Linked DNA regions of Homo sapiens: region 1 is linked to region 2. Evidence: promoter capture Hi-C in human tissues and cell types (Jung and others, 2019). All regions are on one chromosome and are shown on one strand. The core of a region is centred on a gene start or on the middle of the fragment in contact, and the rest is flanking DNA. Distances in the headings are between cores, read along the strand shown.

The links. Contacts are between HindIII fragments. The study calls those that stand out against the background at their distance.
Region 1: a contact is called between a fragment that was not itself captured here and the fragment with the promoter of LRRC63 in region 2, in 1 of the 25 tissues and cell types used here (dorsolateral prefrontal cortex).

What each region holds. Positions count from the first base shown.
Region 1 is chr13:46,273,173-46,276,274 of GRCh38, forward strand. All of the region lies in intron 9 of LRRC63 (leucine rich repeat containing 63), which reads left to right. It overlaps LOC105370194 (a long non-coding RNA gene), which reads right to left. Exons shown (of 3, transcript XR_941946.4): 3 at 1,529-3,102. Among named protein-coding and RNA genes, the nearest start is that of LINC00563, 23 kb to the right of the region's middle. The HindIII fragment of the contact is 5,403 bases long and covers 1-3,102 here.
Region 2 is chr13:46,210,403-46,213,625 of GRCh38, forward strand. LRRC63 (leucine rich repeat containing 63) reads left to right here and starts at 1,526. Exons shown (of 10, transcript NM_001282460.2): 1 at 1,526-1,857; 2 at 2,600-2,717. The coding sequence starts at 2,633. It overlaps LOC107984578 (a long non-coding RNA gene), which reads right to left and starts at 1,450. Exons shown (of 4, transcript XR_001749863.3): 1 at 1-1,450. RefSeq lists a silencer at 1,282-1,611. The HindIII fragment of the contact is 9,677 bases long and covers 1-3,223 here.

The sequences.
Region 1 (3,102 bases), core at 333-2,832, 63 kb after region 2:
AGAAGGGTCTTGAAGGACCAGTAAAATTTGGAACTATGTCTTGTGTTCAAGGGACATTCCAGAAAGAGGAAACAAAATGGGAAAAGAGGGATGTGTACAAAGAGAAAAATAAATATTCAGCCAGAACAAAACATCCATAAAGGGTAGTGGACCGGGCGCGGTGGCTCACTCCTGTAATCCCAGCACTTTGGAAGGCTGAGGTGGCAGATCATGAGGTCAGGAGATCGAGACAATCCTGGCTAATGTGGTGAAACCCTGTCTCTACTAAAAATACAAAAAATTAGCGGGGCGTGCTGGCGGGCACCTGTAGTCCCAGCTACTCAGGAGGCTGAGGCAGGAGAATCACTTGAACCCAGGAGCCTGAGGTTGCAGTGAGCCAAGATTGTGCCACTGCACTCCAGCCTGGGCAACAGAGTGAGAATCTGCCTTAAAAAAAAAAAAAAAAAAAGAGTAGCGGTGGCTGGGCATGGTGGCTCACGCCTGTAATCTCAACACTTTGGGAGGTGGAAGAGGCTGATCACCTGAGGTCAGGAGTTCAAGAACAGCCTGGCCAACATGGCAAAACCCAGTCTCTACTAAAATTACAAAAGTTAGCTGGGCGTGGTGGCACATGCCTGTAATCCTAGCTACTTGGGAGGCTGAGACAGGAGAATCACTTGAACCCAGGAGGCAGAGGTTGCAGTGAGCTGAGATCATGCCAGTGGACTCCAGCCTGGGTGACAGAGCAAGACTCTGTCTCAAAAAAAAAAAAAAAAAAGTACCAAGAAGTGAGCTAAAAAGAAATAAATGGAGTTAGCTAGTTGTCCATTGGAGATCACTGAATGCATTGGAAGTTTTTTTCTTCAGGCCTTGAGAGTCACTGAGTCCAAATAGCACAAATAGACCTGGCAGTATGTCACAGATAGACTAGTGCAGGGGAAGGCTGGGTGGAGGTCAGTTAAAACACTCATGTCCATAACAGGTAAGGAGGGATTGATCCAAAGTAATAAGTATGGGTATGAACAGGCAGGAAATGCAAGACAAATTATGGAGGTAAAATTAACATACCTAGGTATGTGAGCCGAGTGAGAGAGGGAGGATGAAAAATGACAAAGGGTTCAATCTCATCAAAGATGACTGTGACATTAGTAAAAATAAGAACAGTGAGGGAGGGATTTGTCACCCAACCACTGTCATCCTCCAGTGTCTGCCCTTGGCTTTAATCCTGAATTGCTAGCTACTGAAAATTTCGGTACTGTCCTACTTTCGCTGAGTTCTTTGGATTGCAGCTCAGCTGTAGGCTTGCACTAAAGTCACTCTAAGCTCAGCTACTGCTGTCACTCCAATGGCTGCCCTGTCAATTAGCAGCTATGTATGTCTTTTCTGTCCTGTACAACTTATCATTGCTGTCTGCCTCTCTCTGTCTCTCTACCCACATTGTATCACCTCAGACAGAGAATCCACTTCCATTGAGAATGGGGTCAGAAGACTCATGTTCCACAGATTTTTACCTTGACTTCCTTGAGCATAAGAATGATAGAAATTTTTGTTTGTTTTTATTTTTTTCTTTTATTTTTAGTTGGCACATAATTATACATATTTGTAACATACAGGGTGATATTTCAATACATGTATATAGTATGTAATGATAAAATCAGCTTAGTATATCCATCACCTTATTTATCATTTCTTTGTGTTGTGAACATTTAAAATCTTCTAGCTTTTTGAAAATACACAATAAATTATTGTTAACTATATTCACCTACAGTGCTATAGAACACTAAAACTCCTATCTACCTGTGATTTTTTTTCCATTTTTAACCTCTCCTATCCTCCTCTTCCTCTTACCCTTCCCAGCCTCTAATAACCACAATTCTACTCTCTACTTCCATGAGCTCAATTTGTTTTTAGTTTCCACATGAGTGCCGTTCTGTGCCTGACTTATTTCACTTAACATAGTGTCCTCTAGGATCATCCCTGTTGCCACAAATGACAAGATTTTATTCCTTTTATAGCTGAATAGTATTCCATTGTGTGTACATACCATATTTTCTTTATCCATTCATCTGTTGATAAACATTTAGGTCAACTCCATATCTTGGCGATTGTGAATAGAGCTGCAATAAATATGGGGGTGCAGCTGTCCCTTCAATATACTGATCTCCTTTGCTTTGGATAAATACCCAGTAATGAGATTGCTGGATAGTATGATAGCCTTATTTTTAGTTTTTTGAGAAACCGCCATCCTCCATTCTGATGGCTGTACTAATTTACATTTACCACTGAAACTGTGTAAGAGTTGCTTCTTTTCTGCGTCTTTACCAGCATTTTTTACTTTTTGTCTTTTTTATAATAGCCATTCTCACTAGAGTAAGATATCTTATTATGGTTTTGATTTGCATTTCCCTAAATATTAGTGATGTTGAGCATTTTTTCATATACTTATTGGCCAATTTATATGTCTTGTTTTGAGAATATCTATTCTTTGATCATTTTAAAATCAGATTTTTTTTTTTTGCTGTTGAATTAAGTTCATCATATATTCATTAGTGCCTTGTCAGATGAATACTTTGCAAATATTTACTCCCATTCTGTAGGCTGTTGATTCTGTTGATTTTTCCTCTGCAGTGCAGTAGGTTTTTAATTCGAGATTAGTCCCATTTGTCTATTTTTATTTTTGTTGCTTATGCTTTTCAAGTCTTAGCCATAAAATCTTTGCCTAGGTCAATGTCCTGAAACATTTCCACTGTGTTTTCTTCCAGTGGTTTTATAGTTTGTTTAAATACTTAAACATATTCTTATAATCTGATGATTGTGAAATGGTATTTCTTTGCTATTTTGTTTTGTATTCCCCGATTACTAGGGAGATTGAAAAGCTTTACCTGTGTTCTCTTGACATTCATTTTTTCTTCTTCTGTGAATAGTCTATTCCTGTACTAATGTTAATGTACTAATGGATTAATATTTTTTAACTGATTTCTAACCATTTAAAAATACATTATGGACTCTAATTCCATACTAGGTTATGATAGTACCTTTATTTTTTTAAATGATATATTTATTTTGTATCATAAAAAATAACATGTTTATTATAAAAAATTAGAAAATAAAGAAACACATTAT
Region 2 (3,223 bases), core at 276-2,775:
AATGTTTGGTACTAAGTGGTAGAAATAGAAGACAAAATGTTCACACCTGAGATTACATATTAAACCGCCCTAGGTTTTAGTCTCATACTTGCTAGAAGAAATCTGCAAGGAATGATACCTGGATGCCTGCGGATTCCAAGTGTGACAAAGCATTTTTTGAAAAAGCATTCAGAAGCCTTGCTTTCGACTACACAAAGCTAAGCATAAATTTTAAAGGCCAAACGTCAGTCAGTAAAACTGAATTCCTGTAGTTCTCATGGTTCCAACGATCTTGAAGAGCATAGGTACCTGACTCAATTTACACTGTCATTTTTTATGCTTAAAAATATAAACCTTTTTTCACATTTACAAAATATGCACGATATATATTACTTGAGACTAATCTTAGCCACAGAGCTGCCTTTTATTTTCAGCTTTGTATTTCTGAGAAACTAATGAATCTATGGTGTAGATAACAGCAAAAGTGGAAATAAATTCATAGTCTGGGGCAGCAGTATAATTGGGACACAGTAAACTTACAAGGAAAAGAAACAGTACACTACTACTGTAAAGGAAAACAAGTTGCATAATATTTTCCAGAGTCTGATTACTTTTTTGTTAAAACTTTTCTACTTTTTTCATTGATTGTTTTAAAACATGTTTGCTACTAAGGAGAAAAAGGAAGACATGGTTATGGTGTGAATCTTGAAAGATCCCCAAAGCTAGAAAGATTTATACAGAAGTCTCTCATTTTCCAACTTCTGTTATAAAGTTCCTGCGCTAGTACTTAGAAAAAACCAAACCTGGAAGGAAGCTCTACCTAGTTTACTTTCTGAGTTCGGATTTCCGCATCTATCAGATGAGCTCTTTCTAGTGCTCTTTCCCCCTCAAATCTCCAGAGAAACACGCACATTTTTGCAAACACACACGATGTATCTATGACTGCACACACAGGTTCATCAACACCATGACAGAGGCGACACGTCACAATATGATAACCAGAACAGAGGACGATGACAGTGAGAAATGGGTTTCTTTTATGGCCCGCTTGGATCCCTAATGCCCTTATTTCTACACAATCCAGCCTCAGCCAGGAACTTTAAAGGATCAGAAAGAGAAAACAGGTTGCATGAAAGGAAGAGAAAGAAAACCGAATGCCCGCTTTTCGAGAGCACTGCAAAATTAGCCCCGGGACCCGGCTGCACAAAAGTGCAGCCTTAAAGAATGCCAGCCCATATTCTAGACACCCAAGTAAAGCATCCTGTAATCGAGAGAAAATAATAAATAATAGTGGTCATTGCCATTAAGCATAAAAATAGTAATAACAATTGTCACCACGGCGTTCCGTACAGCAGCTGCGCGTGGAGCCGGCTTCTCCTCCGGCCCCCACGGCCCGCAGCTTCCCCTGCAGCCCCACAGTGCGTCGGAGGAAGGCGAGGGCTCCGCGCGCGCTGCACCGTGGGCTGGGCCTGCCCCTCCCGGCGCCCGCCTCGCCTCGCCTGTCCCGCGCCCGCCTCGCCTGTCCCGCCCCCGCGCCTGCGCGTCAAGTGGCTGGGCTGGCTTAGCGGACCCCGGTTGCTAGGGTGTGTCTCCTTGGCCTCCTAGAGGGTGGGGATCCGTGGTGCTTCTTCGGGAACAGCCTCCTGCAGGAAGACCCTCGCTGGACCTTTACCTCGCTGCCTAGATTCCGAGGAAAAGGAGATAGGAGACGAAAAGCCAGTTGGTTTGGAAAGCGGCCGATTATCCTAAAGGGTAGTGTGGGAGTCCAGCACTTCCATGCCCCTCTTTGGGTACTACGGAAGGGAGATTTCCAGCATCGTGTGGAACATATGACCAGGGAGTACACCTTGAGCGCTTGTGTGCAGTTATCTTTTGGCGGTAAACGGCCCATTTGTGCAGTTTCAGGGTGTTCCCTTCTAGGCTATCAATGGAATAATGCCGTGCCAGGCACTTTTGATGTTGCCCTGCAAACTAAAAGCACATTTTGGGGGTGCATCTTCTCGCATTATTTCTAAACAGTATGAGTTGGGATCCAGCAGCCCTGGGAAATCTCATTATAGTGAAACCCATCTTATTTTAGGATTGAATTGTTTTGGCCCAAGCATAGTGGTTGAAAAACAAGCCATTATAGAAAGAAAACAATTTGTTTGTGAATGGTTAGATATGGTGGGTCTTCAGAGGCTTATCTAATGAAGGCATCTTCTACACATTTCTGACCAAATTCTCTTTCTACATTTATAGCGATAACATTTTGGAGAGAGAGAAAAAAAATGTCATTTCGACTATTCTGAAAAATCAGTATTTACTAGTTGAAATAGCATTGGCAAATTGAACTTTGTACTAACATGGAAAATTGTAGAATGATCCTGGGTAGTAATAATACACATATTTTTAAAATTCTATGTTTACTTATAACCCTACATTTTAACTGGATTCTTTCTATTAATAGAAGTTTTAAAGAATTATTTTCTTACCCTCTTTTTTTTTCATAAAGGAATTCTGCCTGGATTCAGTAGAGTATTGGTACAGAATGATTTTCTTTAAGATGTAATCTAAATTCTTATTATTTTTCAACAATTCAAACATATTCAAAACCTTTTCAATTCTCATTTAAACCAAGGATTATGAAAAACAGCACTTATTATTCATTAAAATGCAAAAGCCCCCACTGCTTCTTCGAAGACCCTTACCTCCAAAATTCACTAAGCTGTCTTTACATGAGAAAAAAACCCATACAGGTATGTGTATTAATCAGATATGTGTATTAACATTTATGTATCTTTCATAGAAATTCCTTGACTTGCACAGCTCAGAATCACAATAAATACACTCACTAATAACTTACAAATGTTTGTTGTCAGGTGATAACATCCAATTCAATTCCACAGATGCATTTACTGATACTTATTGGTGGACTTAGTAGATTCAAGTTTATCTCATCGATAAAATTTACTTGTAACCCCAGAATTGGTACTCAAAGGGCTTTCTCAGTCATGCGTGGATATGTGCAGAGCACTGAAAATGAGTCACCCAACACACATGCCTCCAGCTGAGGTGGAACAAGGCTACCTCTACCTTCTTGTTTCAGCTCTCATATTGTAAACGGGTACTGTTTTCCCTGTCTGTTTAGCTCTATGTTTCTTGAATGTTTGTGCTTTTAGTTAGTGATTTCACTGTGGGCCCCAAGCATAGTGTTGAAGTACTGTCTAGTGTTCCTGAGCACAAGAAGGCTGTGATGGGCCTT